7 separate regions of the Homo sapiens genome follow, and regions 1, 2, 3, 4, 6 and 7 are each linked to region 5. Evidence: promoter capture Hi-C in 16 types of primary human blood cells and fetal thymus (Javierre and others, 2016). All regions are on one chromosome and are shown on one strand. The core of a region is centred on a gene start or on the middle of the fragment in contact, and the rest is flanking DNA. Distances in the headings are between cores, read along the strand shown.

Evidence for each region. The method cuts DNA at HindIII sites, captures the fragments that hold promoters and counts their contacts. A CHiCAGO score of 5 or more calls a contact.
Region 1: a contact is called between a fragment that was not itself captured here and the fragment with the promoter of CA14 in region 5, in 5 of 17 cell types (M1 macrophages, M2 macrophages, M0 macrophages and 2 more). The highest score is 9.6, in M1 macrophages.
Region 2: a contact is called between a fragment that was not itself captured here and the fragment with the promoter of CA14 in region 5, in 2 of 17 cell types (M2 macrophages and M1 macrophages). The highest score is 5.6, in M2 macrophages.
Region 3: a contact is called between a fragment that was not itself captured here and the fragment with the promoter of CA14 in region 5, in 7 of 17 cell types (M1 macrophages, endothelial precursors, M2 macrophages and 4 more). The highest score is 11.6, in M1 macrophages.
Region 4: a contact is called between a fragment that was not itself captured here and the fragment with the promoter of CA14 in region 5, in 5 of 17 cell types (M2 macrophages, M1 macrophages, megakaryocytes and 2 more). The highest score is 9.9, in M2 macrophages.
Region 6: a fragment that was not itself captured here is called in contact with the fragment with the promoter of CA14 in region 5 in 4 of 17 cell types (M1 macrophages, endothelial precursors, M2 macrophages and 1 more); the score reaches 10.5 in M1 macrophages.
Region 7: a contact is called between a fragment that was not itself captured here and the fragment with the promoter of CA14 in region 5, in 1 of 17 cell types (M1 macrophages). The highest score is 7.0, in M1 macrophages.

What each region holds. Positions count from the first base shown.
Region 1 is chr1:150,440,969-150,444,365 of GRCh38, reverse strand. It overlaps RPRD2 (regulation of nuclear pre-mRNA domain containing 2), which reads right to left. Exons shown (of 11, transcript NM_015203.5): 3 at 3,343-3,397; 4 at 2,408-2,485; 5 at 1,083-1,135; 6 at 1-115. Among named protein-coding and RNA genes, the nearest start is that of TARS2, 45 kb to the left of the region's middle. The HindIII fragment of the contact is 3,121 bases long and covers 230-3,350 here.
Region 2 is chr1:150,415,148-150,418,642 of GRCh38, reverse strand. It overlaps RPRD2 (regulation of nuclear pre-mRNA domain containing 2), which reads right to left. Exons shown (of 11, transcript NM_015203.5): 2 at 918-1,047. Among named protein-coding and RNA genes, the nearest start is that of RPRD2, 53 kb to the right of the region's middle. The HindIII fragment of the contact is 999 bases long and covers 1,733-2,731 here.
Region 3 is chr1:150,497,353-150,500,884 of GRCh38, reverse strand. TARS2 (threonyl-tRNA synthetase 2, mitochondrial) reads right to left here. Exons shown (of 18, transcript NM_025150.5): 10 at 3,138-3,355; 11 at 2,221-2,383; 12 at 1,851-1,988; 13 at 1,592-1,669. Among named protein-coding and RNA genes, the nearest start is that of MIR6878, 6.8 kb to the right of the region's middle. The HindIII fragment of the contact is 608 bases long and covers 1,589-2,196 here.
Region 4 is chr1:150,458,816-150,462,118 of GRCh38, reverse strand. RPRD2 (regulation of nuclear pre-mRNA domain containing 2) reads right to left here. Exons shown (of 11, transcript NM_015203.5): 9 at 1,802-2,059. Among named protein-coding and RNA genes, the nearest start is that of TARS2, 27 kb to the left of the region's middle. The HindIII fragment of the contact is 5,293 bases long and covers 1-3,303 here.
Region 5 is chr1:150,256,436-150,259,921 of GRCh38, reverse strand. CA14 (carbonic anhydrase 14) reads right to left here and starts at 2,148. Exons shown (of 11, transcript NM_012113.3): 1 at 1,739-2,148. The coding sequence starts at 1,793. RefSeq lists an enhancer at 3,264-3,486. The HindIII fragment of the contact is 8,593 bases long and covers 1-3,486 here.
Region 6 is chr1:150,481,359-150,485,064 of GRCh38, reverse strand. It overlaps LOC124904416 (a long non-coding RNA gene), which reads right to left and starts at 554. Exons shown (of 2, transcript XR_007066600.1): 1 at 276-554; 2 at 1-20. The HindIII fragment of the contact is 5,385 bases long and covers 1-3,706 here.
Region 7 is chr1:150,387,505-150,391,043 of GRCh38, reverse strand. The region is part of intron 1 of RPRD2 (regulation of nuclear pre-mRNA domain containing 2); the gene reads right to left. Among named protein-coding and RNA genes, the nearest start is that of RPRD2, 25 kb to the right of the region's middle. The HindIII fragment of the contact is 490 bases long and covers 1,195-1,684 here.

The DNA.
Region 1 (3,397 bases), core at 541-3,040, 180 kb before region 5:
TGAGAGTTTCTGTGCTGCACACATCCACCCTCATAGTTGACAACTGCTTTTCCTTCAGTTCTATCTGATCTTCTGAGCGCTTGTATAGCAACAGCTCTTCAATTAGGGCCTGAGACTAAACACAGACCAGAGTCATATTTCATTTACAAGATCATTCAATTATTCTCATTCTCTCTCTCCTCATTTTGTAAAACAAAACAAAACAAAACAAAACAAACACCCTAAAGCTTAACAAAACCCTGGGAGGAAAAAAACTTTTCACTTTTTCTCATGGTGACAGATATTAATGATCAATTATCATGTCAAAACCATGTTTAGTTATAGACTTCATTTATTTATTTATTTTTTGAAATGGAGTCTCGCTCTGTCGCCCAGGTTGGAGTGCAGTGGCACGATCTCGGCTCACTGCAAGCTCCGCCTCCCGGGTTCATGCCATTCTCCTGCCTCAGCCTCCTGAGTAGCTGGGACTACAGGCGCCCGCCACCACGCCCAGCTAATTTTTGTTTTTTTTTTTTTTAATTTTTAGTAGAGACGGGGTTTCACCGTATTAGCCAGGATGGTCTCGATCTCCTGACCTCGTGATCCGCCCACCTCGGCCTCCCAAAGTGCTGGGATTACAGGCGTGAGCCACCGCGCCCAGCCTAGTTACAGACTTTAAAAGATCCTTTTCCTTCATTACACAAAGCTAATTTATGGATACAGAATTAAGACTAAAACAGACAAAGGTCCATTTATATAGCCTCTCTAAATTTTAATTACATAAACATAGCCTTCTGTTATTCTAAGCAAATTCTAATTTAGAAAGAGTTTCACAGGAAAATAAACTCTCTTGCTGGCATAAATTGAATATGCAACTCAGCTGATAATAGATATACTGGAAGAAGGTTATTTCTACCATTAGGGGAACAGATAAAACGCCAAGCAATCTAATCCCAATCTGGGTTCCTTTAGAACAGTTCATGCATGTTTAAAACATGACATGTGTAATTGAATACAGATAAATCTTATTGGACTATACAGGAAACTATAATACAAAAGGGGTGAATAATACTTTGCTATATTAAACAAATTCTGTAACTTACTCGAAATTCAGCAACTATCTTAGACTTGAGAGCAGCTTTTGGATTTGTAGATGCTGTTGGAATTAAACAAAAGGTCATTAAGAATACAGACACAAAAAGTTGACTAACAGGAAAAATTTTAGCTCTATAGTTAAAGATATACTCTGAACATATGGCAAACATGCACATTTAAGTCATAATTCCTAAAATAAATAATGGACTAGGAAATTTAAACATTCCTAAATGTGGTCAATGTAAAAATACGCTATTTAGACAGACCTAACCTACTTACCTCCAACAGACCCTTCAGGTCATAAAGTCCTAGAATTATTGATTTGGAGACACCGAGATACATCAAGTACCTTTTTTTCCTAGTCTGGGTGTAACAGGATCTAAATACCTCAAATTAAGAGTGTTCAGGAACAGGACATCCAATTAATCCTGAGCACTGGCTGAAGAAAATTGGTGACAAATAACTCTATTCCTATAAATTTATCCTTTGAATTTCTTTTTCTGCTGACTCAATTCATAGCAAAAATAGGCAAGGAAACTTCTAGGTATATTAATACTGTGGTGGAACTTTGGCTGAAATGACGACTCCTGTTGTTCCTAAGCATGCAACTTATGACCAAGAAGATGTCTGAGGACTCCCTTAATCATGATGGATATCATATGCTCGCTGGAGCAAAACCATCCCAAGTATCTCGTTTCACCTCCCAATTCTCACTGTCTTTTACTTTGTTCCCTCCACACCTTCAAGTCTCTCTCAATATTCCTCAGTTTGCCCACAGCAGCCTATCACATGCAGTATTCCATTCCCTTGATCTCATGCTGGGTAAATACGATAAATATAACAGGAGCTCCCATTACAGAATGAGCTTCTGGCCAGGATCTGAGGTCCATGTCTAATTTGGTAGAGTATATCCCCCAAATCTGGAGATTTCATGGTTCCCACAGAAATGCTTCTTAATGCCTAGTCTCCTCTTCAGATCTGTTGTTTAATGCCAGCTGCCTCTAACATCATATATCCTTGAACCTGAAAATTATCCTGGACACTATCAAGTATTTTTTTCTTCTTGCAATCCCCCAACTACTCTTGAATCTTCACTCAATTAAACCCTTTTCTGCATTTCCTTTGTTTTAAAGTGTAGTTTTTGTTTGCTTTTTTTTTTTTTTTTAGAAGTATCTCCATGATGGCTTGTTTAGCATAGGTCACTGGGAGCCTCCCAGACCTGGAAAACAGGCTTGCCCATGGTTTATGCCAGGTACGATGTCAAATGGTCTACATTTTCTTCTGCTCCAAAAAGAGGAGGTAATTTTATATTAGTTGAGATTTTGTTCCTTACTTTGTGATTTCTTCCACTGCTTATTCGGTTGTTTGTTCAGATTTTCTTTCAGCTGCTTCTGAGTTTTGAAAGTGGTACCTGGAAAACATTTCAGTTTTTGCAATCTGGCATTATGGGAAGCTGTTCTGTCTGTCCACTTCAGTGCCAAAGTTGCAGCATGAAAAAAGGCAATCCGAGACTGTGTGTTGTTTCTTTCTTTCCTTTTCTTTCATTTTTATGAAAAAATAGAAATTCCTACCCGATCTAAGAAGCTGTCAAATAAACACGATTTTTATCATCAGCGAAATTACCAATTCTGAAAAGAATAGGGGAGGAGGCTTAAAAATACCAATTAACAAATTAAAATGAAGAATTTAACAGCTTCTTAGAAGATGCCATTTTTAAAGCAAATTTCTAGTAAAATGACGGTCATGGTAGCAGATTATCACAAACTTCTGTTCAATAACTTAATTACATGCATATAATACATAATTCCTTTTAACAAAACAGTACACCACTTACTGTAAATCTAAATCAAAAGACAGTCTAAAGACTGCTGATATATGCTTACTACCAAACAGCTTAGTAAGAACTGACACCCTGTGCAAAAATTCTCCAACAGTAAGGGCACAGGGCAGTATTTATTAACACAAACAATGAACCATTTGAAACACTCAACGCAAATGCAGGAAAATAACCAGATGGCTATTACCACTTAACATGCTTGACTTTTGTAGTCACTAAAAAACAAAATCCGACCCCATCCCTAAAACCAATTCTACTTACATTTTAATTCAAACAGATCTAGATTTTTCATAAATATTTAACTTTAAACAAATAGGGCTAGATTCAAAACTTAATTTTTCACTATTATACAACATGACCAGATCTATAAAATTATGTAATTGTAAAGACTGACTCAAAAATTTTCTTTTAGGAGAGAAAAAGACACTTACTCAAAGCTTCTCTCAATGCCACAATCATTTCTTCTGGGTATACATTTCTATCTTC
Region 2 (3,495 bases), core at 983-3,482, 160 kb before region 5:
GGAAAAGTAGTATGGATCATTTTCTAAACTTTTTTGAGCACAGAACCCTTCTTCCTCTGATCATTTCATAGGAATACACTGTGGGAAGTGCTGGATCCAACTACCGCTAAAAATGAAATTAAATCAACATGGAGTTGGGAGTATGATGGTGGGAAATAATTTCCGTTTCTCTTTACAGATTTCATGGAGGGAAAAAAATTTCAGTAAGACTCAGAAAGAAGAAATGAAATGTGTTAAAACAAACAAACAAAACAGACACAGCAGTTAGAAGGAAGCACATTCAGAGATTATCACCAGGAGACATACATGGTCAAGTAAGGATAAACAGGAGACCAGCTTTTGAAAACAGAAGAGAGAGCTTTTAAAAGAAAAACATGGCCAGGCACAGTGGCTCACGCCTGTAATCCCAGCACTTTGGGAGGCTGAAGCAGGTGGATCATGAGGTCAGGAGATTAAGACCATCTTGGCTAACATGGTGAAACCCCATCTCTACTAAAAATACAAAAAATTAGCCGGACATGGTAGCACGCACCTGTAGTCCCAGCTATTTGGGAGGCTGAGGCAAGAGAATTGCTTGAACCCGGGAGGCGGAGGCTGCAGCGAGCCGAGATCGCGCCACTGCACTCCAGCCTGGGCAACAGAGCGAGACTCTGTCTCAAAGAAAGAAAGAAAGAAAGAAAAGAAAGGAAGGAAAGGAAAGGAAAGGAAGAAAGAAAGAAAGAGAGAGAGAGAAAAAGAAAAGAAAAGAAAAGAAAGAAAGAAAAACGTGTGTTAACAAGAAAGTAATAATCAACCATTTAGGCAAATTATCCTTAATCTTCAAGCATGTTCAATTATTACAGTTCTTAATGGGTTAAGAAACTAAAATTCTAAGTTGTCTAAGTTTAGATCCCATAGAGCAATAAAGATTTACTTACTTCACTAGAGCAGCTGCTTCAGGAAGTACATCAGCAAATGATTCACGGAATATGATTGCATTTTTCCTTTTACAGTTCTGTATGACATCATTGGCAAGGTAAAAGAGATTCAAACGGTGGGGATATGCAGCTAGAGATGACAAAAGACAATAAATAAAACCAAATGAGTCAATTTGCACTTAGTTCAACTTATTCCAAATACAGTGTTCTCAAACTGTAACTGGTTATTTTTTTTTTCTTACATGGATATAAAAAGATGAATGTAATTACATGGATGGAAGGGAGGAAGGATGGATGGATAAACCGACAAATGAACTAATGGATGGAAGGGAGGCTGGATGGATAAACTGACAAATGAACTAATGGATCAGTTTACCAAACATACTAAAAACCTTGACTACTTCACGTTAAGTTTCTGTTCAAGGTACTCCTCAAGGACATTTCTCCCTCACTTTGTAGATGTTTGGCACTAAAAAAAAAGACCCAGTAACTCTGGAGAAGCTAAAATAAAACAAAATTATAGTCTCAAACATCTGAGAAGACAAAAAAAAAATGAGTTGAACATGCTCAACTTGTTGCAGAAATACCAAGGTTAGTAGAAAGAGCATGGGCTTTGTAATCAAATCAGAATGTGACCTCAAGCAAATTGCTTAACATTTATTACAGATAGACCCTCTCCCCATCAACCAATCCAGATACTACTCAGATACGTCTTAGTCTTCCCATCTACTGGAGGGAGGCTCTGCTGCTGCTTTCATCACTAGACGAATGTCCTGCAAAATAATATGATCCTATGTATGCATCTAGGTTAAGCTTTTCTTCTTCTTCTTTTTGTTTTTTTTTTTTTTTTTTTGGAGATGGAGTCTCACTCTGTCGCCCAGGCTACAGTGAAGTGGCGCAATCTCAGCTCACTGCAACCTCCGCCTCCTGGGCTCAAGCAATTCTCCTGTCTCAGCCTCCCAAGTAGATGGGACTACAGGTGTGCACTACCACGCCCAGCTAATTTTTTTGTATTTTTGGTAGAGATAGGGTTTTATTATGTTGGCCAGGCTGATCTCAAACTCCTGACTTCAGGTGATCTGCCTGCTTTGGCCTCCCCAAAGTGCTGGGATTACAGGTGTGAGCCACCACACCCAGTCGGTTAAGTTTTTCAATGGTTCATGACAAAGCCCCATCAATGTACTATCTGGAACCCTGAGCAAAGTCACCTTAAATTTCATTATTATGCTGGGTAATTTCAATGTCTATATGGATGATCTACCATGTTTTCTTGTCTCTCAGTTCCTTGACCTCACATTCGGTGACCTCCAAGAACCACTCCTTTGTACATTTTAAAATCTCCTTCTCTGATCACAACCTCCCACTCCTATTATACTTGTTCTTCAATTTCATCAAGATCTCAGCTTTTTATTTTCTCTAACTCTACATTCTCTTCTCAGTACTCAATTCTTCATCAATTCCAGAGTCTCTGTCCATTATTTAAACCAATATTTTATTAAAACCCTCATACTCTTGTCCTTCTCCCTAATTCAGCCTTCTATCTCATGTGCTCAATGAAATCCCAAATTTGGATCAATCTAACTAACTGCATTTACTGCACCTTTATTTCTGCTGCTGGGTTCTAAAATCACATACAAAAAATTAAATCATACGAATTAAAAGTCTCCTTCTTCACCTGGGCCCGCAATGCTACATACAGTCCCTCCACATGTGCTTAGTCAGCATCCTCTCTCAAAGAACTATTTCAAATTTTAACCACTTGTCAGGCCCGAATCTTTACCACATCTCTTCTTCTCACTCTCAGGAGATAAGCTTATATGCTGTTTCACAGAGAAGGCAAAAATCATTAAATGGAAATTATCTTGTCACAAAAAATGTATCCATATTTAAACTCACCTAGATCAATTTACCTAGTAAAAAGCATCACTCCTATTAAAGAGTAATCCTTCCACTACGTACTGTTTCCTAGACTCTATTCACACCTTGAGAACCTTATGCTCCATTAACTATGCTTGCTTCTTTTTTTGTGTTTTTTGTTTATTTGGAGACAGGGTCTCACTCCTGTCACCTAGGCTGGGGTGCAGTGGTGCGATCACAGTTCACTGCAGCCTCCTTGGGCTCAGGTGATCCTCCCACCTCAAGCCTCTCGAGTAGCTGGGACTTCAGGCATGCCACCATGCCTGGCTAATTTTTTTTTGTATTTTTAGTAGAGACAAGGGTTTGCCATGTTGCCCAGGCTGGTCCTGTACTCCTGGGCTCAAGCAATCTGCCCGCCTCAGCCTCCCAAATTGCTGGGATTACAGGCATGAACTACTGCACCTGGCTTATCCTCGCTTCTTGTATTTTAATTTGATTCTTATTTGTATTTACTTATTAATTATTATTATTATTATTTTTGAGACAGTTTCACTCGTCGCCCAGGCTAGAGTGCAATGGCACAATCTCGGCTCACTGCAACCTCCGCCTCACGGGTTCAAGCTATTCTCCTGCCTTAGCCTCCCGAAGTAGCTGGGATTACAGGCACCTGCCACCAAGCCCAGCTAATTTTTTTGTATTTTTAGTAGAGATGGAGTTTCAC
Region 3 (3,532 bases), core at 643-3,142, 240 kb before region 5:
CCAAATAGACTTCCTCTCATCATAGCATTTATTTTATTTTTCATTTTATTATTATTTTTCTGAGATGGAGCCTCACTCTGTCGCCCAGGCTGGAGTGCAGTGGTGCGACCTCGGCTCACTGCAACCTCCGCCTCCTGGGTTTACAGGTGCCTGTCACCACGCTGGGCTAATTTTTGTATTTTTAGTAGAGACAGGGTCTCAAACCCCTGACCTCAGGTGATCCACCTGCCTCAGCCTCCCAAAGTGCTGGGATTATAGGCGTGAGCCACCGCCCCCAGCCTGTTTTATTTTTACTTTTTGGGACGGAGTCTTGCTCTGTTGCCCAGGCTAGGGTGCAGTGGTGTGATCTTGGCTCACTGCAACTTCCCAGGTTCAGCGATTCTCCTGCCTCAGGCTACTGAGTAGTTGGGACTACAGGTGTGTCCTAACACCTCACCCGGCCAATTTTTATATTTTTAGTAGAGATGGGGTTTCGCCACGTTGGCCAGGCTGGTCTCGAACTCCTGACCTCAAGTGATCCACCCACGTCGGCCTCCCAAAGTGCTGGGATTACAGGCGTGAGCCACCACACAGGCCTCATTTATTCATCTTCTAACTCCACCCTCAGGCCCTACTTTACTGAAAATGGTCCTTTGAAATCCAGCAGCCTTTTTACTAAATCCAGTGGACACTTTTCAGTCCTTTTTTCCCCTTGGCTTCTTTTTTTTTGAGACAGGGTCTCACTCTATCACCCAGGCTGGAGTGCAGTGGGGCGCAATCTCGGCTCACTGCAGCCTCTACCTCCTGGGACCAGGTGATCCTCCCATCTCAGCCTGCTGGGTAGCTGGGACCACAGGCACAAGCTACTGCACCCGGCTAATTTTTTTTTTTTTTTTTGGTAGACACAGGGTCTCCCTGTGTTGCCCAGATTGGTCTGCCATGTGTTTTCATCCTTATCCCCAGCCTCTGCCTACACTGTTCCCTCCTGAAACACATCTTTACTTGGCCAACACTCACCTTTCAGATTGGAAAGTGATTCCTGCAGGACACCTTTTGTAACCTCCCCGAGTAATGCTAACCCCAGCTAACGTGCTCTCTTGGTACCTACACAGCACAGATCTCGCAGCACTGATATGGCCTATTTACCTTCAGCAGCCCTCACTAGATTGCAGATGCCAAGAGGGCAGAAAGTATATTGTTTTTCTTTATATCCTACGTAAGTTTAAAAATATTTCTTTGTGGCCGGGTGCGGTGGCTCACGCCTGTAATCCCAGCACTTTGGGAGGCCAAGTGGGGTGGATTGCCTGAGGTCAGGAGTTCGAGACCAGTCTGGCCAACATGGCGAAACCCCATCTCTATTAAAAATACAAAAAAATTAGCCGGGTGTGGTGGCGTACACCTGTAATCCCAGCTACTCGGGAGGCTGAGGCAGGGGAATTGCTTGAACCAGGGAGCTGGAGGTTGCAGTGAGCTGAGATCACACCACTGCATTTTAGCCTGGGTGACAGAGTGAGACTGTCTCAAAAAAAAAAATTCTTTGTATCTATTAAATATTTACTAAAACAAAGCAAAAAATAAATAAATACAACACTAACCAGGGTCCCAAGCTTACCTTAGGTCCATAGAAGGCACCATCTCCAGAGTTGAGGTCCCAGGGTTCTCCAAATTCCTTCAGGGCCTGTTTAAGGACCTTTGAAGGAATGAGACAAGAGTGGAATACATCATCTTAGACTTCAAAAGCAACACATCCGGTCAGTCCCCAACAAATGACCCACTCACCAGATGCCTCTGAGAACCTTGATTACTGTATTCTCCACTCCTTCCCACCAGAGAGTGGTTTATCTGCCTCTATTTCTCTACCTCCTACTCACCTGTTCGGCCTGGTCCCAAAGGCAAGGGTCCCCCAGGAAGCCAGATGGCCGGGTGGACAGTGCCAGGCGGAAGGAGAAGCCAAGAACGGCATAGACGGAACGGAGGAAATCAAGACAGCTTTGGATCTCTGCTTCCAGCTAGGGGCAGGAAATAAGGGTCAGTGAGCTGTGAGCCCGCTAGAGATCAGGGATGCTGGCAGTTTGAGGAAAACAAAGGGCAAAAACAGAGAGGAAGCGGAAGCAAGCTGGGGGTAGAATGTAGCTGAATTATAGTACATACAGGGGGCAAATAAAGATCAGGGGTTTGCAGGTTCATAGGGAGAAAGAAAGGTGGTTTAGAAAAGCTTTGGTGGAGCCAGGGAAAGGCCACCTGATCTGTTGTACAGAAGATGTGAGCGTCATCCTGCTGGAAGCACCGCAGTCGGGTCAGTCCCCCCAGACCACCAGAGGCTTCGGCCCGGTGTAGAGCCCCAAAGTCAGCTAGTCGCAGGGGCAGTTCCCGCCAGGATCTGGGCCGGTGGGCGAACATCAGGCTGAGGTTGGGGTGCAGAGGGGTCAGGGCCATAGGGAGGACTAGCCCCCGAAGACTGCTCCTCCACCCAATCTGCTTGCCTACTTTCTCTGCACCATCTGCTATAACCCTCTCCAGCCTCAGCACATCCTCCCACTGAGTCCTGTCAATCCCACTCATCACAGTCTGAGCCCTGAGGTTCAAAAGTGGATTTCTCAGTAACACAATAACAGACATCGTTTACCATTTCCCTGTTCTGTGATGGTCACTGAGCTGAAGGAGGAGCCTTAGATAGCAACTTTAAGGAGACTGAGACCTAAAGAGGTAAAATGAGTTTCCCAAATTTACATGGTTAGCTAGGGGGAAGACTGTAGGCTCAAATCGGTGTCCCAATACTCTTTCCAAGGTGCTTTCTTTTTTTTTTTTTTTTTGAGATGGAGTCTCGCTGTGTCACCCAGGCTGGAGTGCAGTGGCGCGATCTCGGCTCACTGCAAGCTCCACCTCCTGGGTTCACGCCATTAGCCTGCCTCAGCCTCCTGAGTAGCTGGGACTACAGGCGCCCGCCACCGTGCCCGGCTAATTTTTTGTATTTTTAGTAGAGACAGGGTTTCTCCATGTTGGTCAGGCTGGTCTCAAACTCCCGACCTCAGGTGATCCGCCCGCCTCGGCCTCCCAAAGTGTTGGGATTACAGGCGTGAGCCACCGTGCCCGGCCCCAAGGTGCTTTCTATTATTTAATATTTAGCAACCTGATTGTAACCCTAGCTCCCAGCTTACCAGTGTGCAGGGCAGTTCATAGGCTTGAGGGCGAGTGTATCTGTGATATGCCTGGTAGAATCGTCACTCTGGGAGCTGGGAGGCCTGTCAGAGCCTGGGGGCTGCACGGCAAACATGTCTTCCTGATAATGCTCCCAGTGCCCTGACTGTTCCCAGAGCTTCGTAGAAAACAGTGTGGGAGTTTTCACCTCGGAGAAACCACGATGGGCATACTCAGCCTGGAGAGGAGGGTACAGACATGGAAGGTCAGAGTAACTGGAAGGAAAGCAGGTAGGGTGTCAGCTGTGTGATCTTCCTGGGCCCTCAGGCCATGCTGATTGCAACCACAACCTATTAAATACCAGGTCCCATCTCTATGCTCCCCGACTGCAGACCACACAATTGTAGTATTAAAG
Region 4 (3,303 bases), core at 97-2,596, 200 kb before region 5:
GTAGACAGGGTTTCACCAAGTTGGCCAGGCTGGTCTTGAACTCCTGACTTCAGGTGATCCGCCTGCCTTGGCCTCCCAAAGTGCTGGAAATACAGGCGTGAGCCACCAAACCTGGCCTAATTTTTGTTTTTTGTTTTTTTTTGAGACGGAGTATTGCTCTGTCGCCCAGGCTGTGCAGTGGCGCGATCCTGGCTCACTGCAAGCTCCGCCTCCTGGGTTCAGGCCATTCTCCTGCCTTAGCCTCCCGAGCAGCTGGGACTACAGGCGCCCGCCACCATGCCTGGCTATTTTTTTGTATTTTTAGTAGAGACGGGGTTTTACCATGTTGGCCAGGATGGTCTCGATCTCTTGACCTCGTGATCCACCCGCCTCGGCCTCCCAAAGTGCTGGGATTACAGGTGTGAGCCACCACGCTCGGCCATAATTTTTGTTTTTTTAAGTAGAGATGGGGTTTCGCCATGTTGTCCAGGTTTGTCTCCAACTCCTGGCCTCAAGTGATCAACCTGCCTCCACCTCCCAAAGTGGTGGCGTGAGCCACCACACCTGGCCCTATAGTATTCTTCATAACAGTAAAAAACTGGAAACATACTAAGTGCCTAATAATAAAGGATTAGATAAGTTACCACATGCTATGCAGCTATTAAAAATGATGTAGAGAAATATTTAATGATTCATAAAAACATTCAAGATATGTAATTAACTTTTAAATAGCTAGTTTTGAAACAGTATATGCAATACACTTACTTTTTTAAAAATTGTTATACATATTTAATTCTCCAAAACATTCATATACACATATACTTTTAAGGGTAAACACAAGTGGTTTCCTTTGGGGTAACAGGATTATAGATATTTATTAAAAAATTTTTTTCATTTAAAATTTTTTATTTAGAGATAGGGTCTCACTATATTGCCAAGGCTGGTCTCGAACTCCTGGCCTCAGGCAATCTACCATCTCAGCCTCCCAAAGTGCTGGGATTACAGGCATGAGCCACCACGCCTGGCCTAGATATTTATTTCATTCTCTTTGCTTATTTTCTAATTTTTCTATAATGACCGATTATTGGATTATTTTTTAATTTAACAATTAATTTAGCTGGGTGCGCTGGCTCACGCCTGTAATCCCAGCACTTTGGGAGGCCAAGATGGGTGGATCACCTGAGGTCAGGAGTTTGAGACCAGCCTGACCAACATGGTGAAACCCCGTCTCTACCAAAAATACAAAATTAGCTGGGCATGGTGGCACATGCCTGTAGTCCCAGCTATTTGGGAGGCTAAGGCAGAATTGCTTGAACCTGGGAGATGGAGGCTGCAGTGAGTGAAGTTTGCACCATTGCACTCCAGCCTAGGTAACATGACTGAAACTCCGTCTCAGAAAAAAAAAAAAAAATCATTAATTAAAAAAAATCAACAACAGACTGGGCACGGTGACTCACGCCTATAATCCCAGCACTTTGGGAGGCCGAGGTGGGTGTATCACCTGAGGTCAGAAGTTCAAGACCAGCCTGGCCAACATGGTGAAACCCCATCTCTACTAAAAATACAAAAATTAGCCGGGCGTGGTAGCAGGTGCCTGTAATCCCAGCTACTTGGGAGGCTGAAGCAGCAGAACACTTGAACCCGGGAGGCAGAGGTTGCAGTGAGCCAAGATTGCACCACTGCACTCCTGCCTGGGAGACAGAGCGAAACTCTGTCTAAACAACAACAACAACAACAACAACAACCCCCCCAAAAACAGATTAATGATTCAATTTAAAAAGATGGAAATTAACTTTTTATCCTCCTTACTGGGCTTACTTACCAGTATTTTTCATGACTGATGTTAAACTGCTAAGGATGGAACTGATCTTTGCCAGATCCACATTAGCCAGGTTTGGCAAAGCCAATGCTGGGGAAGGGGAAAGAGAAGTATTCACAGGCTTTGGAAGAGGTGGAGTTGCTGTCATGGTCACAGGCACTGGGGTACATGAAGAGGCCTTTGAGATATTTTCTGTTGGCTTTGTAGGTACAGAAGTGGATACAGCTGACTTCTCTGCAGGTTTTTCCTTCCTGTCCTCGACTGTTTCAACAAAGAAAAGAGATATTACATCCTACTACTTTCCAGACTTTGCTTCCTATATGAAATAACATGTCCTAATATTTCCGGACTTGGGGGAAAAGGCACTACTTTAGAGAAAACAACGACTCACTTCATGCTTTTTTGAAAAAGTCATACTCTTCATAATTTATGATAATTCCCACCTTTAATATCTGCTTAAAAGCAATTTCCAGCTGGGGACAATGGCTCATGTGAGGTCAGGATTTCGAGACCAGCCTGGTCAACATGGTGAAATCCTGCCTCCACAAAAAATACAAAAAATTAGCTAGGTGTGGTGGCAGGCGTCTATAATCCCAGCTACTACAGAGGCTGAGACACGAGAATCGCTTGAACCCAGGAGGCAGAGGTTGCAATGAGCCGAGATTGTGCCACTGCATTCCAGCCTGGGCAACAAAGCGAGACTCCCGTCTCAAAAAAAAAAAAAAAAGCAAGCAATTTCCAGAATTTATCTTGTATCTTACTTTTCAATGATTCCTTTGCATTTTCTTAGTATTTGTGTATTAAATCTGTACAATTCAAGAAGCATGTTATTATTTGGTACACATTTGTGTTCTGTCTTTTGGAAATGATATTTTTCATAAATTGTCCTGTGTTTTTCTTTTCCATTAACCTGAGAACTTTCTAAGAACTTCTGTTCTTAGAAACAGAACCTCTATAGTGTTCATTGTATTTTCCTCTGGCTTCCTGAAATTGCCCTATTGGGGGGTGCAATCAGGCACTAGCTAATTTGAAACTACAATGTTTTAACTCTCAATCACCTTGAATAATTATTTTTAATGCTTTAAGGGCTGTATCAATAGTGCATTGAATTCAACAGGAGTCAAACTATCTAATAAGATTTATGAAGGCTGGGGATATAAGAGAAACAATTCACCAAATCAGGTTATTTCTGAAAGTGTGATTAACAAACTGACTTTGGAATTCTTGATGGTCAAAAGTGACAGAGAATAAGGAATTCCAGTATAAGTGACCCCTCATCCCAAAACAGTGCTATTTAACATGAATACAATTTAAGCCACATATGCCACATATGTAAGTTTAAATTTTCTAGCAGCCAAATTAACAAAAAAAGAATCAGGGCCGGGCATGGTGGCTCAAGCCCACCTCCCAGCACTTTGAGAGGCCGAGGCAGGCGGATCACTTGAGGTCAGGAGTTCGAGACCAGCCTGCCCAACATGGTGAAACTCCGTCTCTAATAAACATAC
Region 5 (3,486 bases), core at 899-3,398:
AAAGGGGAGGAGGAAGGAAAAGAGGTAAAGCCCAGAGACTAAAATTAACCTGGATCCAAATGTGCGATTGGCCCAACCCTTTCTTTTCTGTAACCTGTGCCAAGTCAATCTAACACTTAGAAGATTGGGGTGGGTGGGGTGAGGGTGTGGGCAGAGGGTTGGAAGGATAGGGACTAGAAAGCGGGGAGGAGAAAGGAGTTTAGAGTGTGTGTGTGTTGGGGGGTGCTACTGAGGGGAGAAGGGGAGATTATTCCTTTGCTTTAAAAAATTGCATGAATAAAGCCACTGAGCTGTAAACTCATATGTAAATTCTTCTTTTCTGGTCCCATTAGCTCTAGAGGAAACTCCTCATCACCAGGAGGCTCTGCTCCCTACATTCTGAGATGGTTAGGGAAGGGTGGGAGTCAGGGCAGGGTCTACTCTAGATTGAGGGTGGTGGGTGGGCACAGGCAGCCAGGCTGGCAGGGACAGGATGAAAGTGAAGCATTGTGTGTAGAGAAGAGAGCTGCCAGCTGGGTCACATGCCAGGCTCTCGTGCAGTCCTGTCTGACGCAAAGGCTGAGGGTCTGCAGGTCCAGCCCCTCCCTACGGCCAAACTGCCTCAAGAAGAAAACGAAGGCCTTCATGGTTTATGCTGCAATATTCATACTACTAGAAACTCTGGAGAAAAATCCTAAATTCCTTCCTCTCTCTGTCTCTTATTCCCTTAAATTCCTCAAACTTGTGAGATGTCCTGCTCTTATCCTTGACCTATTCTGCTAGCCCAAGGGAGAGCTGGAGGCAGCCTCTCATTTTACCATATCTGTGGGACCCCCCAACAACTCAAACTCCCTGGTCTGTAAAGGTGCCTGTCCACTCTGGTCAGAGCCTCAACACACTTATTCTGTCTCTTCCTCCTCTTTCCCTCTTTTTTTCTTTCTCCTCAGATGAGATTTGTGACTCTCCATTTGGCTGCCTGCCTGCCCCCATCCTCTCTGCATTTGCCTTCTGCTCTCTGGACACCCACCTCACCCTGCTCTTTCCACAAACCTCAGTTACACACCTAGTATGTGCTGGACACTGTGCTAGGCACAGGAAACACAAAAATGAGGTCTAGGAGTTCCTGGGGACACTCCTGGAGCGCTTCAGCCTGTTCTCCCAAGAATCCCTCCTCATCTCCTGGGAGCTCCTGAAAGTCCTTTGTAAACTGTAAAATGTCAAACAAATGTTGACTCTTACTGCCACTTTCAGAGGATAACTGGGGAGTTAGTCGCTCCACAGAATGAAGAGGGAATCTTGGCCAAAAGGGGATGAATTGGAGATCAGGGTCTGAGTTGGGCAGGAAGTATTCTTCCCCCTACCCCCATCTATCCATCTTTTTACTCCAGGCCTCTTTGACTCCCTATTTGGAGGAGTTTGTAAATAAAGAAGTCCAGGAGTCCTGCCTGGGACCAGGGCAGTGGGGGAAAGAGCTCTGGAGAAAATCTGTAGCCTGCAAAGAGATTCCAGCACTTGCATGTGTACACACTCTGCCTGCCTGCCGCTAGTTCTCCCCGACCTCCAATAACAACAAGGCTGGAGAGACAAAAGGTAAAGAAGGGAAGTGGTCTCCTCCACACCCCACTCTTTTTTCCTCATCTCTGAGCCTATTATTCCAGCCTCTAGGCTTCCTTTCACACCTCTCCTCCCCCCATTAAGCACACCTGGCGACATGTGAACATCAGCACAAATCCACACACAGACATTTAGTTGTACCTACCCCCATCTGCAGCCAGGATCCAAATCACCTCCAGCAGGAGGGCGGAGAACAACATAGTGTCCCAGGAAGGGGTGCAGGGGACTGGGAATTTGAGGACTAGAGGACTAGGACAGGCAGAGAGAGAGGGAGGGAGGAGTGAGAGAGAGAGAGAGAGAGCGAGCGAGCTCCTGGCGTGAGTGTATTTATCTCTGCTTCTCTTGCTGTCTCTGTCTCTGTGGGCTTCCAGGGGATTCGGTGTTCAGTAGGGTATCATGGGTTTCTGGATCCCCAGGACAAATCTCTTGCTGCCTCTTTGCCCTCTCTCTTTATCTCCCTCTGCAGTCTCCACTCCACTAGCTGGCCAGCGACTTTACAACTGCCTCCTGCTTTTAAGGTGGCTCTGAACTGGTGTATGTGGGGACGGGGGTGCTGCCTGGGCTGCTGGTGAACAGCTCCTTAAATAGCCAATTAGGCATGCAGGATGGCCCCACTCGGAGCTGGAGCGCGGCAAGTTTCACTGGAGCCCTGGCCCTGGCTCAGGAGCCCAGCTGGGGTGAGCTCTTCCTTCCTCTGCTAGTCACACAGATGCTGTTTAGATGGGTGTTCCCTGGAGCAGGCAGGGTCAAGGAAGGGGCTTTGGGGTTCAACTCAGCCCCCTCAAAAGGACACTGTATTTTCATCCCCCCGCCTGATTTCTCCTCTGAGGAGCAGCTCCCTGGGTGGTATGCGGCAGATGGTGGGGGTACCTGTTCCCAATTCCCTGCATAATCTGAGCTGCCCTGGAATGGGAAGAGTCCAGAATTAGGAGATATATAACAAGAAGGAATTAGGGACTCAGGGTGCAGGGGAGGGGTGGAGGAAGTCAATAACTAAAACCTGAGTTGTGTCCTAAGTTCTAAGGAAGAGAAGTGAGGCAAGGAGAACTCATCTGGAGCAATCTCTTCTGTGCCTGCCACCACCCCCTTCCCACGGTGAGGCCTGGGTCCACGTGCCTGTGTGGCCTGGGGTGGGGGGAGTGCGGGGAGGGAGCGTTGTTTGCTGGATAAAGCCCATTTGTATGCCCAGTGGGGGAGGGGTGTAGCAGCACCATGGAGAGACAGCGGCTGTAACTGCCAGACCCAGCCACCTCCCTCTCCAGGGAGCCCAGATCTAGGGCGGCTTTTGTCACTGAAGAGGACACTGACCTCCGGCAGAGAGGCCAGGGCAGGAGGAAAGGAGAGACTTTAGGAACAATCACTACCACCATCAGAAAAAGGTGGTTTCCAGAGAAAGAGAGGGGAGGGTCTGGAGAGACCATGTGATCCAGATGGAAGAGGGGCTCAGGGTCTTCCTTCCAGCCCAACAAAGGGCTGAGGCAGGACATGTGGCACTGAATGAAACCTGCCACCAAGGAGCTGCGTCCGTGGAGCATGGAGGCTGCACGTCTCAGGAATGTGAACTGATGTTTGCTCCCCACGGGACTGGAAATCCCGATTGGAATGTACATCCTAAATCCCTCGTTAGAGAATGTGAAACCCACAGATACTTTCAAGCCAGACATTGAAACCTCTTTCTCCTCCATGCTCTTCACCAGAGGCACCAGCCAGGAGGATGCACCCATCTGAAGCTCCCTCTGCCCTCCTTGCTCCTGCCGAGTAGCAATAAATAGCCAAACAAAGGGAGCAGAAGCTAAATAAGGGAGCAGGATAAAAGCCAAATGAACAGAATAATGCATGTGCTGGATCATCAGCTCCTGCAGAGACAGGAGCTCACTGTGCCTTTCTATCCCC
Region 6 (3,706 bases), core at 950-3,449, 230 kb before region 5:
TCCATCTTCTGGTAGACACCCTGAAATACAAAGAGAAAGAGACAAGAGTGTGGGAGAGGAAGATAACTTGTGTGTGTGTGGTTTGGAGAAGGTAGTTAAGAATTTTTAAATGGCATTCAGAAAGGGTGGCAACAGGCAGAATTCTTCTCATGCCTCTGCACCAAAAGGGGAAAGGTGTATTGCAGGCAACAAAATGGTAGGTGCCCAATAATTATTGAATCAAGTATGTACCAATCACGGTATTGATTTGATGCTCTCATTTACTAACTGCTTACTGTGTGCAATGCAGTGAGCTGGGTGCTGAGGGGATGCCGATCAATCAACTACCACATCATCACCTATGTAACTTGTGTTGCAGTGGAGGAAGGAAGGAATGTTGAGTTATTCCATCCGCCCTCTGTAAGAAGCAAGCAAGCAAGTAAGCAAGTGCAAGAGCAAGCTAAGGCCAATTCATGAGTTACTGGTTCTTCTACAACTTCGGACTTGTGACTAGCATATGCCTCAGTATTGGGGAATTTTAATCCATTAGTCAGCCTAGGAAACATCTATTCTTTTTTTTTTTTTTTTTTTTTTTTTTGAGGTGAAGTCTTGCTCTGTTGCCCGGCTGGAGTGCAGTGGCATGATCTTGGCTCACTGCAACCTCCGCCTCCTGGGTTCAAGTGATCCTCCTGCCTCAGCTTCCCCAGTAGCTGGGATTACAGGTGTACGCCACCACACCCAGCTAATTTTTTTTGAGTCAGAGTCTTGCTCTGTCGCCGAGGCTGGAGTGCAGTGGCGCTATCTTGGCTCACTGCAACCTCTGCCTCCCGGGTTCAAGTGATTCTTCTGCCTCAGCCTCCTGAGTAGCTGGGATTACAGGTGCGCGCCACCACGCTCGGCTAATTTTTGTATTTTTAGTAGAGACAGGGTTTCACCATGTCAGGCTGGTCTCGAACTCCTGACCTCGTGATCCGACCACCTTGGCCTCCCAAAGTGCTGAGATTACAGGCGTGAGCCACTGTGCCCGGCCTGTTTTTTGTTTTTTGAGATGGAGTTTCACTCTTGTTGCTCAGGCTGGAGTGCAATGGCACGATCTTGGCTCACTGCAACCTCCGACTCCCAGATTCAATCGATTCTCCTGCCTCAGCCTCCCGAGTAGCTGGGATTACAGGTGCCCGCCACCACACCTGGCTATTTTTTTGTATTTTTAGTAGAGATGGGGTTTCACAATGTTGGCCAGGCTGGTCTTGAACTCCTGACCTCAGGTGATCCACCTGCCTTGGCCTCCCAAAGTGCTGCGTTTACAGGCGTGAGCCACCATGCCTGGCTTGAAACATCTATTCTTAAAACTTGGGCTGTTGCCCCTCCACCCTAGACTACTACTGAACACCCGGTGCTATGCCTTCACTATTTCACCTAATTCCTAAAACAACTATGTCAAGTATACTCCCTTTAAAACAGGAAAATGATTCTCAAAGAAGTAAAGCCCCCAGTCTATCTGAATGCAAAGCCCTTGTTGTTTATGCTATGCCATACTGCCTCTCAGGGACCAGATTGGTCATAATGTGTCAGGTTATAAGATTCTGATACTTGTGGCCAAATAGGCCTTTGATATAGGGTAAAAGAGGTGGGTCCAATAGAAAGCCAAGAAAAGAGGCGTCTTCCGACTTTTCTCTACCAGATTAAGGTTAAGGAAAAAAGTGTGCACAAAATAAAGCTAGATTTCCACAGAAGTGCAGGAAAAAGGGAATCCACAGTGAAGGGTGTCCTAGGCCCTTAGTAAAATTTTAGGAAATTCTCAGCTTAACTCCACTTTTGGAATAGAAATTCCAAGGTGACTAGAGTCCTAGTTCAGAAGGTATTGTTTTTATAGCTTTAAACTACATGTAACTTTAAACTACATGTAAATATTTTCCACTTGTCCTCAGGATCAGCACATACCTCCAAATCTATCTTACTTCTTAGAAGCACTAAAGATGTAGAAAGTATATTTGGCTGGGTGTGGTGGCTCACGCCTGTAATCCCAACACTGGAGGCTGAGGCAGGCGGATTGCTTGAGTCCAGGAGTTCGACAACAGCCTGGACAACATAGTGAGACCCCCATCTCTACAAAAAATAAAAAATTAGCTGGGCATGGTGGTATGTGCCTTGGGAGGCTAAGGTGGGAAGATTGCTTGAGCCCAGGAGATCCAGTGCAGTGAGGCGTGATTGCACCACTGTACTGCAACCTGGGCAACAGAATGATACCCTGTCTCAAAAAAAAAAAAAAAAAAAAAAAAAAAAGAGAAGGCAGAGGCCGGGCACAGTGGCTCATGCCTGTAATCCCAGCACTTTGGGAGGCCGAGGCGGGTGGATCACGAGGTCAGGAGATCGAGACCACCCTGGCTAACATGGTGAAACCCCGTCTCTACTAAAAATACAAAAAATTAGCCGGGCGTGGCAGCGTGCGCCTGTAGTCCCACCTACTCGGGAGCTGAGGCAGGAGAATGGCGTGAACCCGGGAGGCGGAGCTTGCAGTGAGCCGAGATCGCACCACTGCACTCCAGCCTGGGCAACACAGCAAGACTCCGTCTCAAAAAAAAAAAAAAAAAAAAAAGAGAAGGCTGGATGCAGTGGCTCACGCCTGTAATCTCAGCATTTGGGAGGCTGAGGCAGGTGGATCTGAGGTCAGGAGTTTGAGATCAGCGTGGCCAACATAGTGAAAGCCCGTCTTTACTAAAAATACAAAAATTAGCCAGGCGCGGTGGCTCACGCCTGTAATCCCAGCACTTTGGAAGGCTGAGGCGGGCAGATCACCTGAGGTCGGGAGTTCGAGACCAGCCTGACCAACATGGAGACACCCCGTCTCTACCAAAAATACACAATTAGCCAGGTGTGGTGGCACATGCCTGTAATCCCAGCTACTTGGGAGGCTGAGGCAGGAGAATGGCGTGAACCCGGGAGGCGGAGCTTGCAGTGAGCCGAGATTGCGCCACCGCACTCCAGCCTGGGTGACAGAGAGAGACTCTGTCTCAAAAAAAAAAAAAAAAAAAAAAAAAAAAAAGCCTGGCGTGGTGGCGCATGCCTGTAGTCCTAGCTACTTGGGAGGCTGAGGTGGGAGAATCACTTGAACCCCAGAGGCAGAGATTGCAGTGAGCCGAGATCGTGTCACTGCACTCCAGCCTGGGCAACCAAACAAGAATCCGTCTCAAAGGAAAAAAAAAAGATATTAGAGGTTAAAAAAAAAGGAATAAGGTAAAATATATAAAGAAAGGATTATGAGGCCGGGTGTGGTGGCTCATACCCGTAATCCCAGCACTTTGGGAGGGTGAGGTGAGCAGATCACTTGAGGTCAGGAGTTCAAGACCAGCCTGGCCAACATGGTGAAACCCATCTCTACTAAAAACACAAAAAATTAGTTGGGCATGGTGGTGCACGCTTGTAGTCCCAGCTATTCGGGAGGCTGAGGCGGGAGAATCGCTTGAACCTGGGAGGTGGAGGTTGCAAGGAATTAAGATCATGCCACTGCACTCCAACCTGGGAGACAGAACAAGACTCCGTCTCAAAAAAAAAAAAAAAAAAAGAAAAAAAAAAAGAAAGAAAAGAAAGGATTATGTCATTGCTAACAAAAACCTTTGGGGCCCAGAGAAGTAGCCAAGTGGCTAAAGGCACAAGTGGTAGGGAAGTTAGGTTTATTTTTTAAAAAATAATTCCCTAGTAATGTAAGTGGAAGATCTGGGATGGGGCC
Region 7 (3,539 bases), core at 190-2,689, 130 kb before region 5:
GAATACTGTATACTGAGGATAGAATACCCATCCTCTCCTACTGTTTTTAAGAGCTTCTCTTTGACTTTGATATTCTTCAGTTATCTATAAAGTATGTACAAGTAGATTTCTTTTTATTTAACCCCCTTCCTTCATATGCATATGGTCCCTATATATATTCACATATTTCATCAATTATTCCATTTTCTCCATTATTCCTTTAAAATATTGCCTGTTCTTAATTCTCTCCTTATAAGACTTCAATCACACATGTTAGACTCATTATGCTCTTCCTTTTAACTTATTTCTTAACATTACATTCTGGGAAATTACTTCAGATCTTTCAGTTCATGAATTCTCCCTTTGCCAATGGTCTTATCTGTTGTTCAAATCATCCACTAAGTTTTCAATTTCAACAGTTATACTTTTATTTCTAACATTTCTCTTTGGTTCTTTTTCAAATTTGCATAACTGTCTAAGAGTTGTTCCTTGATATATTTTAGATTCCTTTATTAATTTAAATATTTTATACATGGTTCTTTTTATTTATTTATTTATTTATTTTTTGAGACGGAGTCTCACTTGTCGCCCAGGCTGGAGTGTAACGGCGTGATCTCGGCTCACTGCAACTTCTGCCTCCCAGATTCAAGCGATTCTCCTGCCTCTGCCTCCCGAGCAGCAGGGAGACTACAGGCATGTGCCACCACGCCTGGCTAATTTTTTAATATTTTTAGTAGAGATGGAGTTTCACCATGTTGGCCAGGCTGGTCTTGGAACTCCTGACCTCAGGTGATCTGCCTGCCTCGGCCTCCCAAAGTGCTGGGATTACAGGCGTGAGCCACTGTGCCTGGTCAGTTGTTTTATATTTCATATCTTATTATTTCAATAGTTTAAGTCTTTGGGGTTTGTTTCTATTAAATCTCACCCACAGTTGTTTATTTCTTTGTGTTTGGCAATTCTTTTATTGTAAGCTTATATTTTGTTGAATTTTATCTATGGGAATTCTGAAAGCCTAATCAGAGAAAGCTTTTTCTAAAAATGTATTTGCATTTACTCTGGCAGAGAGTCAAGGGCAGTAGTGACCCAGGTTCAATTCAGCATCTTTCTCAAGGGGCTTTTCAACGTTTCTGGGGGCCCAAGGCTTAGTCTCCCATTAGTGCTGATGTGAGCGTTTGCCTTCAGGAAAACGTTGCCAGTCTTGTTTGCTCACAAGCTTACTCACTGCTCCTGTTTCAGCTGACTCTTTACTTCTGTGAATGAACAGACCCTTGGAAACCTCCCTTACTTTTTTAGTACACCCAGTAATGCATTAAAATGTGTGCTTGTTAATGTCTACACAGAATTCTGAAAAATTTACATAGATGCTGCCTCCTCAAGGAGGTAGACGGCATAACTCCCCTAAATTGTGGGCTGTGCAGTGACTTCTTCCCAAAGAGTACAATGTGTAAGAGGCTTCAAAAAAGAAGAAATCTGAAAAAAACTATCTCAGCCAGGTGATCAAGGTTAGTATCATTAGCGGTAAAACATGTTGATAGGATGGACACTCTTGATATCATGTGATGAAAATGGAACTTTACCTCTGTGGTCTTCCTCCAAAGAAACAATAACCCCAGCTAATCATTAAAACAAAAAACAACCACAAAAAAACAGACAAACCCACATTGAGGGACATTCTACAAAATATCTGACCAAATCTAGGGAAGCTTAAAAGAAAACTGTGGACACAGTGGCTCACACCTGTAATCCCAGCACTTTGCGAGGCCGAGGCAGGCAGATCGCTTGAGCTCAGGAGTTTGAGACAAGCCTGGGCAACATGGTGAAACCCTGTTGCTACAGAAATTACAAAAATTAGCCAGGTGTAGTGGTGCATACCTGTGGTGCACACCTATAGCCCCAGCTACTCGGGAGTCTGAGGTGGGAGGATTGCTTAGACCCGAGAGGTCGAGGCTGCAGTGAGCTGTGATTGTACCACTGCACACCAGCCTGGGCAACAGAGCAAGACTCTGTCTGCAGGGAAAAACAAAACAAAACAAAACAAAACTGTCAAAATCTAGAGGAGCCTAAAGAGATATAATAATTAAATGTGGAGTTATGGAGAAAACAACAGTAGGTAAAAACTAAGGCAATTCATAAAATATGGACTCTTAATAATTACATATTAGGCCAAGTGCAGTGGCTCACGCCTGTATCCTAGCACTTTGAGGGGCTGAGGCAGGCAGATCACGAGGTCAGGGGTTCAAGACCAGCCTGGCCAATATGGTGAAACCCCGCCTCTACTAAAAATACAAAAATTAGCTGGGTGTGGTGGTGTGTGCCTGTAGTCCCAGCTACTCAGGAGGCTGAGGCACAAGAATCGCTTGAACCCAGGAGGCGGAGGTTGCAAGATCGCGCCACTGCACTCCAGCCTGGGCGACAGAGTGAGACTCCATCTCAAAAAAAAAAAAAAAATTACATATCAATATTGATTCATTGGTTTTAATAAACGTAACATACTAATGTAAGATGTTAACAACAAGGGCAACAGGATGCAGGGTGTATATATGTGTGTGTGTGTGTGTGTGTGTGTGCGCGGGTATATATATATAGTGTATGTGTATATATGCATATACATATATATGTGTGTATACATGTATATATGTATATATATACATGTGTATATACACGTATATACATGTGTATACGTGTATATGTGTATACATGTATATATGTATATGTGTGTGTATATACACATGTATATACACATACATATATACACACACATACAAGCACTCTCTGTACTATCTTCACAACTTTTCTATAAATCCAAAACTACTGCAAAGCTAAAATTTTATTTAAAAATTATGTCTGGGCCAGGTGCAGTGGCTCATGCCTATAATCCCAGCACTATATGAGGCCAAGGTGGGTGGTTTGCTTGAGCTCAGGAGTTTAAGACCAGCCTAGGCAACATAGTGAGACCCCGTCTCTACAAAAAAATACAAAAATTAGCTGGGCGTGCTAGTGCACCCCTGTAGTCCCAGCTACTTAGGAGGCTGAGGTGGTAGGATGGCTGAAGTCTAGGAGGCAGAGGTTACATTGAGCTGAGATCACACCACTGCACTCCAGCCTGGGTGACAGAGTGAGAGACACTGTCTCAAAAAAAAAAAAAAAAAAAGAGAAAAGAAAAAAAGAAAAAAATGGCCAGGAGCAGTGGCTCACGCCTGTAATCCTAGCACTTTGGGAGGCCGAGGCAGGCAAATCACCTGAGGTCAGGAGTTCAAGACCATCCTGGCCAACATGGTGAATCTCTGTCTACTAAAAATGCAAAAATTAGCCGGGTGTCATGGTGCCTGCCTGCAATCCCAGCTACTGGGGAGGCTGATGCAGGAGAACCACTTGAACCCAGGAGGCAGAGGTTGCAGTGAGCCAAGATCACGCCACTGCACTCCAGCCTGGGTGACAAGAGTGAAACTCCGTCTCAAAAAAAAAAAAAAAAAAAAAAAAAAAAAAAAAAAAAAAAAGGTCTGTTGCAACTTCTGTAAGATTTAGTTGTATTTCTGGTGGAAGGATCCTGCAAAATATCT